Linked DNA regions of Homo sapiens: all the other regions are linked to region 1. Evidence: promoter capture Hi-C in 16 types of primary human blood cells and fetal thymus (Javierre and others, 2016). All regions are on one chromosome and are shown on one strand. Each heading gives the region's core, a stretch centred on a gene start or on the middle of the fragment in contact. The rest is flanking DNA. Distances are from core to core; before and after follow the strand shown. Region 1 holds the start of LINC01996 (long intergenic non-protein coding RNA 1996). Region 2 holds the start of GGT6 (gamma-glutamyltransferase 6). Region 3 has its middle 7.2 kb from the start of SMTNL2.

Region 1 (3,059 bases), core at 187-2,686:
CTCCCACTCTGGAAACCATTCCCTTGCTAGCTCTCTCGTCTCTTGTACGCTTGGGGAGGTGAGACCTATTATTAACAGGACACATAACTGAAGGTTAGGGTTTCAAACCTGAAGCCAATCTGGGAACACAAGGGCTCTGTAAAAAGCATGGCTATATGTTACTGAGTCCTCGCACACGTTAAATGGAGCTCTCCCGAGTTGCAGACATGGCCGTACGCTCTGCGCATGAAACAGAGCAGATCCTGCCAGAATGCAGAACAATTTCTTTTAAACTTTAGGAATGGTGTCCCTCATGTCTCACATTCAGAATGAGACAGACTCGAGTTTTTAAAGTTGGTTCCATGATGTTCTTGTCTGTGGTCTTTGTTGGGGGTGGGGGGTGAGAGATCATAAGACAGTTTGTGAGTTTCAAACATGATTTTACCTCTAAGACAAAGCATGAGAAGAAAATCCAGGAAGGTCTCACAATCCTAAGATATTTGGAAACCACCGTTTTAGGTCGGGGTTACGTGAATGTTCCCCATTTGTGAGACCCAATTTCATCTTGCTTTCTACCCTGGTATGGAGGAATTCACATCTTTTTTCCCCTTTCCCGAGAGAATTATTTCTTGGAGCTGCTCATAAGAGTCTTCTGTTTTTCCAGATAGATTCCTTCACCTGGATTTTGTTAAACTTATTAAGTCGGACCAAATTGGCTTGTGTGTTTCCCTGAAGTGAACGTTTCACCAGAGCCACGATGGGTTTTAGCTTTTCTGATAGCTGATGGATATTTTTCAAGGCAAGCGAGAGCCTATAAGCACTTTCTGAATATGACAGAGCACATGCTGGTGAGAGGAGACCGCACAGGCCAGGTGTTTGGGGAACAGTTTGTTAAAGCCAATGAATTTCGCAAATGTGCTAGATGATGAAGAGTTCTCAGCTTTCCCGGTTGCAGTGATCAGAACTCTGTAACTGGAGACCGGTGTGAGAGAAGATTTTATTCTCTGCCATCATGACCGGGTCTATACGACTGCAGGCAATTGCACAGAAGACTAGAAATGCTGATTCAGTTGGTCAGTTTGGGGTGGGACATCTTACCAGTCCAGCAGAACCAACTCTGGCTTGGGTTTTTCTAGCTGGTGACAGGTGACCAACTCATTCTGATGAGTTGATTACGCCTGTGGACGTGGCCCACTTGATTTATTTTTTCTCCCTCTGTTAGCTGTGCTCTCCCAACCACCTGATAAATGGACCCAGTATGATTATTTCTGAGCCATCTTATCTCTCTCACTTTTAAAGCTTGGATTGGGTTTGCTTTTAGAGCTTTTGATCTCTTATCTCTTGGTTCTTGGACTTGCTTTGATACCAAACAGCCCTCATAGTCTTTTGAAAGAACACCTTAAAAATTCCTAGGCTGGGCGCGGTGGCTCATGCCTGTAGTCCTAGCACTTTGGGAGGCCGAGACAGGACAAATATTTGAGCTCTGGAGTTTGAGACCAGCCTGGGCAACAGAGTGAGACTCTGTCTCTACAGAAAGTTTTAAAATTAGCCAGGTGTAGTGACACATGCTTGTAGTCCCCATTACTTGGAAGGCCAAGGCGGGAGGATGGCTTGAGCCTGGGAGGTCAAGGCATCAGTGAGCGATGGTTGTGCCACTGCCTGGAGATAGAGTGAGACCCTGTCTCAAAAAAGAAAGAAAGAAAGAAAGAAAAATCCCTAAGACCTGACCTGCCTACTCCCTAGAAAGCACCAAATAAGGAAAAGCACTCCGGAAGAATGAAGCTAAGAAGGCTGTGCTCTCTGAGGCATCCGGGCAGCCTTCACTGGAGGGACAAGGTCCAGGTAGGTGGGATGACAAGCTGGGAAGGGGCCCTGAACCAGAGGCAGGTGATGTGGGTGGTGGCACCAGAGAGACACCAGACAGTGTTACCGTAGGTCTTGACTGTCCACCTTCATTCCTGAAGTTGATCCAGCTTTCTTACTGTCACGTAGGTGGATATAAAATCGATCTTTAGGGTTCTGATTTTTTGTTTGTTTTTGTTTTTTTTGAGACGGAGTCTCACTCTGTCACCCAGGCTGGAGTGCAGTGGCACAATCTTGGCTCACTGCAACCTCCACCTCCCAGGTTCAAGCGATTCTCGTGCCTCAGCCTCCTGTGTAGCTGGATGTACAGGCGCCCGCCACCATGCCAGGCTAATTTTTGTATTTTTAGTACAGACGGGGTTTCACCATGTTGGTCAGGCTGGTCTCGAACTCCTGACCTCAAGTGATCCGCCTGCCTTGGCCTCCCAAAGTGCTGGGATTACAGGCATGAGCCACTGCGCCCGGCCGGGGATCTGAGTTTTAATCACTCCCAGTGCAAGCGTCCTTATCTGGTTTGCAGACTGAGTGGCATTTGTGCTGCCGAGGCTCTTCCTGGCTTGCCCTCCTCTCTGGCTGTTGCTTTCCCTCCTCTGTTCATTAGAGCCTCCTCTCCTCGGCTTGTTGCTCCTATGTGCTGTGACCTAAGCTCTATGCTCCTTCTTCTACATTAGGGTTCATAGCCCAGGACTTTGGGGAGTCTGTGGATGTCCAAATTGAGTGTTTTACCTCAATTTGGTTGAGGTTGCAGTGAGCCGAGATTGAGCCATTGCACTCCAGCCTGGGCAACAAGAGTGAAACTCTGTCTCAAAAAATTGTATTTCTGGCCGGGCGCGGTGGCTCACGCCTGTAATCCCAGCACTTTGGGAGGCCGAGGCAGACGAATCACGAGGTCAGGGGATCGAGACCATCCTGGCTAGTACGGTGAAACCCCCGTCTCTACTAAAAATACAAAAAATTAGCTGGGCGTGGTGGCGGGCGCCTGTAGTCCCAGCTACTCAGGAGGCTGAGGCAGGAGAATGGCGTGAACCCGGGAGGAGCTTGCAGTGAGCGGAGATCGTGCCACTGCACTCCAGCCTGGGCGACAGAGCGAGACTCCATCTCAAAAAAAAAAAAAACATATATTTCTTTGATGTTTACTGGCTGGCATTCTTCTGTAAAGAAAGTCTTTCCCTCCCTCCAACTCAGTTTTTGAGTGTTCCTGGAGGCCCATGGATTTT
Region 2 (3,059 bases), core at 364-2,863, 50 kb before region 1:
CAGGGCACTGCTCTCGGGGCTCACAGCAGTCTGCAGGAACGGTGGGCAGGGGTCAGGGATGGGCGCCCCGGAGCGCAGGGCTGCCTCCAACAGTGCCAGCAGTTCTGGGCCAGCTGAGGGACTGGGGGTGGTGAACAGGATGCCCTGGGGCACAGGTAGCTGCTCTGCTGGTTCCAAAGTGGGCCTGGGCACAGCCGAGGGCACCTCCACCCCCAGGTCTCCCGCCAGTAGACTCAGTAGAGCATCCCCAGCAAGGTCTGAGGTGGGAGCGAGGGCTGCGCTGCGAAGCACAGCTGCCAGTTGTGGGTTGGTGGCTCGGGCCCCAGCGCCCAGGGGTGTCCCATCAGCATGGCAAAGTAGTGGACAGAGGCCTTCTGTGCCCCGAGCCACCAGAGCCCTTGCCAGGGGTGTGTCCACCAGGAAGCCCTCCTGAGCCAGCGTGGTGGGGCCCACTAGCAGGCGTGGCCAGGGCAGGCGGCCGAAGCGTGCATGCAGCAGGTGCAGGGTGGGCAGAGCCGCGGGCAGCCCCAGGCCGGGGGCCAGGGTCTGTGCTGGGCCTGATGTCAGGGCCGTGGAATTGCCTGAGGAGCTATCGTGGAAGAGGCCCCAAAACATGGCACCTGCAGGAGACAGAGGGGTCCCTCAGCAGCCGCAGGTCAAGGGTCACTGACTTGTTTCAGTCAAGATCCCTTGACTGAGCCTGGGATCAGGAGTTACTGACCAGGCCTGAGGTCAAAGTTCCACAGACCCGGGCTCAAGGGTCATAGCCTGGGGTTGGACTGCTGCCCAAACCCTAAGTCCTGCTCACTTAGCAGTCTTGAGGTCAGTGCTACTGACTCCCTAAGTTCCAGGTCACTGATCAGGCTGTGGGTTGGGGTTGCAGTCTGGGGTCAGGGGTCACTGACCTAGCCCCGTGGCATGAGGATGCACCACTGCCAGGCACAATGCAGCTCCAACTCCAGCATCCACGACGTTGCCCCCGGCAACAAGCAGCTCTCGGCCTAGGTGGGAGCATGTGGCTGCAGCAAGGAAGGCACTGTCATGCAGCAAGGAGGGGGGCTAGGCTGGGCTGGTGACCCCTGACCCTCCCCTCCCCAAGCCGCCCCCAGCACTGACTGACCTGCAGGGCTGATGATGGCACCGTGGTGGTATACGCCAGGGCCGTGGGAGTGTCCGCCGGGTGGAGGGGCCACAGAGCCCAAGCTTCCTGTCGACCTGCCCTGATTCTGGAGCTGCCTCACAGCCAGGGAGCAGCCAACAGCCAGCAGCAGCAGGGCTGCCACTACACGGGCCCAGGTTCCGGGCAGCCCGCCAGCCTTGTTCCTGCAGAGGGGGGGTGTCCTGAGCCACGGCTGGGACAGAGGGATGCCCAAGGACCCCAAGAGACCCCAGGGAATATTTCCCAAAAGGTTTGATTTAGCAAGAGGAGCACAAGTCAGCCAAGGAGAAAGGGCTTCTTGGCAGCGGGTGCATCTTGGGCAGACATGGGGATGGGAAAGCATCTGGGGAAACTGAGCCTAGCTAGGGAGGGAGCCTCTGGAGGGGAGATTGGTGGGGCAGAGTCCACTCAGGTGGGAGGGAGGCCCAGTGGGGTGTGGCAGGCAGGAGAGAAGGGGCTGGGGAGCAGGCCCAGCCAGGCGTAGTCAGGCCCCAACCTGCCCAGCAGGTGCCTCCTGCACCAGGACTTGGGGGCTGGGGACCTTTGACAAAGCAGCAGATGGGACAGAGGCTGGCTTGGTACAAATGTCCCTCCAGATGCACAGACTTTTGATTGGGTCAGGCCAAGTCTCGGGCTACAGCCTGGGTTTTCCCCCAAATTGACCGTACAGTGCCTGGAGCTAAACCCAGCGGGGAGTCGCCTGGTCCCCCTGAGGGGCTCCAGAGAGAGGGACTTGCCAACCTCAAGCCTGGGGAGCCTGGTGCCCAGACCCCTCCCTTACTTACCTGGAAGAGTCCTGGTGCCTCCGGGGGTTTAGAACCAGCGCCTCTGATGTCTCCTCCTCCTCCACTTCCTCCTCCGACTCCAAGCTTGGCTCCCAGGGCAGCAGCTTCTGATAGACCACGGGCTCTTCTGCCCGCTCCATGGCCCCCCAGTGCTCGCCCCAGCCCTCCTGCCTGCCAGCCTTTCCGGCTGTGTCTCAGAGGCCCTGCCCAAGCCTGGCAGGTGGGAGGTGGCAGCGACCTTGGGGAAGGGTGGGGGTGGAATCCAGAACAGGTCTGGGCAGGGCACGGGGCCAAGGAGGCTGCATGTGAGCCTGCCCCATTAGGACACAAGGCCCGAGGAGCTCTCGCGACAGGGTTCCCGGGGTGACTGCCTGTAAGGGGCCACAGCTCAGTGAGGTCGAGAAGGAGTTCAGCCTTAATGCCACAACCTTGATACTCAGGGCACCTGCTGGGCTCCTCCCCTTGGGGGATGTAGCCCATGGATCCCACCCACCTGGGACTCTAGGGACTGTGGACTTGAATTAGAGCTACGGTTTCACGGTGGCTTGGGTCAGAGCTCCCACGTGCTTGAGTCTGCACGTGACTAGGTTCTGGCGTAGGGGTGTCTGGTCTCTGGCCGGGGTCAAGGCTCAGCCTGTGGCTACTCTGGGTCTGGGTTTCTTTGAGGAGCAACTTGGTTCGTAACTCCCTGTGCGTGTTTTGCGACTCTTGTCCAGAAGGTAGCGCCACAGCCTGGAAACCAACATTTCTAAATTCATTCTGGGATTCCCATCAAGGACTTGTTGCAAAACAGTGCTGTTTGTAACAGTCCCAAATTGGAAAGTGCCCAAACATCCATTATCGTTAGAATGAATGATGTAAGTCACAATGGACCACTCTGCAGCAAAGAGAGTGAGTGATCTACAATTATATGCAATAATATACACAGGTCTGACAAGCATAAGGACGAGGGAAAGCAGCCAGGCAGGAGACAGCGCACGCTATATGCTTTCATTTACACAAAGTACACAAACAGGCAACAACAAAAGAGCAACAACAGTCTGCCCTTAGAAGTCAGATAGTGACTGGAGGAGGTACCAGGGGGTTTCTGGAATGCTGGAGATGTCCTTTCTTTC
Region 3 (3,059 bases), core at 294-2,793, 33 kb before region 1:
GCTGGGCTGGGGCTGGAGTAAGCGTGCATATTGTATCTAGTCCCTCCTGGCTGCTGGCCTGGTGTCCCTGGATCTGGGGATAGGCGCCCGGCCTCGTGGTGCCCTCCTCCTGCATGGGCCAGTTGGCTCCACCCTCCCGGTGCCAGTGTCAGGTTCCAGGCTGTTCCCCGGGGGAACTTTGATCTGGAAAGAATGAGGGTGACCGATCTGGCTGCTGCACAGGGCCGAGCCGTGTCACCGAGACCTGGCCTGAGCTGCCCCTGCCACTTTCCCGCCCACTGGGACACCAAGCGGTTACCCTGGGCTCAGGAGACACAGAGGGGGTCTTTCCTGCTTCCCTTCCCTCCCTTCTCCTCTTCATCATCCATTGTTTATTCAGCAATTCACTCATTCATCAAGTATTGGCTGATGGAGTGGGGGTGAGTGATGGGGACAGAGGGACAAGGAGACAGGGTCCTGCCCTTTAGAGAGCCCCTCACCTGATAGGGGGGCAGGTGGCCCACACAGACACACCCTAAACAGAGACCACTGCTTGAGAAACACAAGCCCTGCTTTGGAGGAGGAAGATGGGGAGTGCGAGGAGGGATGTGTCCTAGTGGGCACCGTGCAGGGTTAGTGGAGGTAAGGAGGTAAGGACAGGCTTTATCAGGGAGGGCTTCCCGGAGAAGGGGGTGGTTAAGCTGGACCCCGATCTGGAGGATGAGCAGGGATGTGTCCGTTTGAGAAGTAGAAGGCCAGGCACAATCACAGAAGCACGAAAGAGTTTTGTGTTTGTGTGTTTGTGGGCGGCAGCGGCTGAGAAAGGGGGGTTGGAGAGGTGGGTGGGGGGCTGGTTAGGAAGGGCCTTGAATGGCCCCCTCAGGCGTTCCCCTGTTGGCGAGGGGACCCATGAGTCAGGGGTAGGGGTCCTAGCTGGGACAGGTTGTCAAATCAAGACACAGCTGGGGGCTATAGGGGAAGCGGCAGCTTGATGGCACCTCCGGGCCTTGCCGAGGAGGGGCTGGTGCCTCCGAGACCTCCCCCGCCAGCCCCAGCCCCAGTTAGTCTCCACGGTACTTTTGAGGAAGCCCCGCTGATCTATGGGCTGCAGCGGCTCCAGTGGGCTCCAGGCCCAGGGCTCAGCCCAGCCCCTGCCTTGGCCTGGCCTCCCCACCCCCACTGCCCACTCTGACTGACGCAGCCTTTTGCTGGGCTGAAAGCAGACACTGCCTGTGAGGCCCCTGGGGAAGGCCCAGGGGGCAGAGCCCCGGAGCTCGGGCTCCTCTTGTCCTGAAGGCTGCTGAGCCGGGGCCTATGAATAACCCCTCCCCCGGCCCCGTCTCTGAGAAGGGGGAAGGGAGGCAGGCCCAGGCCAGGCTGAAGGCACCAGGTCTTTTGGTGGGAAGCTGTGGAGGGGGTGAGGGAAGAAGGGGACAGGGCCCACGGTTGGAGATCCTCTGGGCTGGAGCAGTCAAGCTCCACAGGGAGAGTGCGTGCAGGGACTGTTGTTGTAAGAGGAGCGGCCAGTCCTCCTTCCTCCCATCTCTGGGTGGGTTTCCGGAGGTCCAAGAGTCCGGATATGAGCTCTGAGGGCCACCCAGGCTGGGCCTGGCCTGCCCCCAGAGACCCCCTCTTCAATTCCCAGTGGCCCAGGACAAACTTGTCCCTGCTTTGCCTGAAGACCTTAAACATGTGCCTGTTCTTCCTGGACTCAGTCTCCCCTCCTGGCTTTGCAGTTTTCAGGGTGGGAGCTGAGTGGGTCAGTGTAGAGCCCTCTCCAGGCCATGGGGCCAGGGCTTAGGGGCTGGGACCCAAGGGGGAGGATCCTGGAAATGGAAAATCTGAGCCCAACAGCCTTATCTGGGCTGGAAGCAGCTGTCTCCACCCCACACCCTGCGCAGCCCCCGCCTCTTGGGGGAGGACAGCAGCCCCTCTGTGCAGGAATAGGTGGTGTTTGTTCAACGGGTAGCCTGGGCCTCCGCAGAGGCCTGTGGGAAATTCTTCCTTAGTGGGGTCAAGAGGTTGGTGCAGGAGGGCAAGAAACTCTGCTCACTCTCTTCTTTCCCCACATCACAGCCATCCTGATTTTTTTTTTTAGATGGAGTCTGGATCTGTCATCCAGGCTGGAGTGCACTGCAACCTCCACTTCCCCAGTTCAAACGATTCTCGTGCCTCAGCCTCCCAAGTAGCTGGGATTACAGGCGCATGCCACCACGCCCAGCTAATTTTTTGCATTTTTAGTAGAGATGGATTTTCTTCTTTCTTTTTTTTTTTTTTTTTCCTGTTTAACAAAGCACATCTTGCACCGCCCTTAATCCATTTAACCCTGAGTGGACACAGCACATGTTTCAGAGAGCACAGGGTTGGGGGTAAGGTCACAGATCAACAGGATCCCAAGGCAGAAGAATTTTTCTTAGTACAGAACAAAATGAAGTCTCCCATATCTACTTCTTTCTACACAGACACGGCAACCAACCGATTTCTCAATCTTTTCCCCACTTTTCCCCCTTTTCTATTCCACAAAACTGCCATTGTCATCCTGGCCCGTTCTCAATGAGCTGTTGGGTACACCTCCCAGACGGGGTGGTGGCCGGGCAGAGGGGCTCCTCACTTCCCAGTAGGGGCGGCCAGGCAGAGGCGCCCCTCACCTCCCGGACGGGGCAGCTGGCCGGGCGGGGGGCTGACCCCCTCACCTCCCTCCCGGACAGGGTGGCTGCCGGGCGGAGACGCTCCCCACCTCCCGGATGGGGTGGCTGCGGGGCGGAGGGGCTCCTCACCTCTCATACGGGGTGGCTGCCGGGCAGAGGGTCTCCTCACTTCCCAGACAGGGCGGCCGGGCAGAGACGCTCCTCACCTCCCAGACGGGGTGGCAGCCGTGCAGAGGCTGCACTCTGGGCACTTTGGGAGGCCAAGGCAGGCGGCTGGGAGGTGGAGGTTGTAGCGAGCCGAGATCACGCCACTGCACTCCAGCCTGGGCACCATTGAGCACTGAGTGAACCAGACACCGTCTGCAATCCCGGCACCTCGGGAGGCCGAGGCTGGCGGATCACTCGCGGTTAGGAGCTGGAGACCAGCCCGGC

What was found. Contacts are between HindIII fragments. The CHiCAGO score rates a contact against its expected background, and 5 or more counts as called.
Region 2: a contact is called between a fragment that was not itself captured here and the fragment with the promoter of LINC01996 in region 1, in 2 of 17 cell types (M0 macrophages and M1 macrophages). The highest score is 6.7, in M0 macrophages.
Region 3: a fragment that was not itself captured here is called in contact with the fragment with the promoter of LINC01996 in region 1 in 2 of 17 cell types (M0 macrophages and M2 macrophages); the score reaches 7.0 in M0 macrophages.

Annotation. Positions count from the first base shown.
Region 1 is chr17:4,609,013-4,612,071 of GRCh38, forward strand. LINC01996 (long intergenic non-protein coding RNA 1996) reads left to right here and starts at 1,437. Exons shown (of 2, transcript NR_145431.1): 1 at 1,437-1,821. The HindIII fragment of the contact is 12,447 bases long and covers 1,277-3,059 here.
Region 2 is chr17:4,558,438-4,561,496 of GRCh38, forward strand. It overlaps GGT6 (gamma-glutamyltransferase 6), which reads right to left and starts at 2,140. Exons shown (of 4, transcript NM_001288702.2): 1 at 1,945-2,140; 2 at 1,121-1,323; 3 at 906-1,019; 4 at 1-620. The coding sequence starts at 2,084. The HindIII fragment of the contact is 825 bases long and covers 1,202-2,026 here.
Region 3 is chr17:4,575,778-4,578,836 of GRCh38, forward strand. No RefSeq gene overlaps it. Among named protein-coding and RNA genes, the nearest start is that of SMTNL2, 7.2 kb to the right of the region's middle. The HindIII fragment of the contact is 9,660 bases long and covers 1-3,059 here.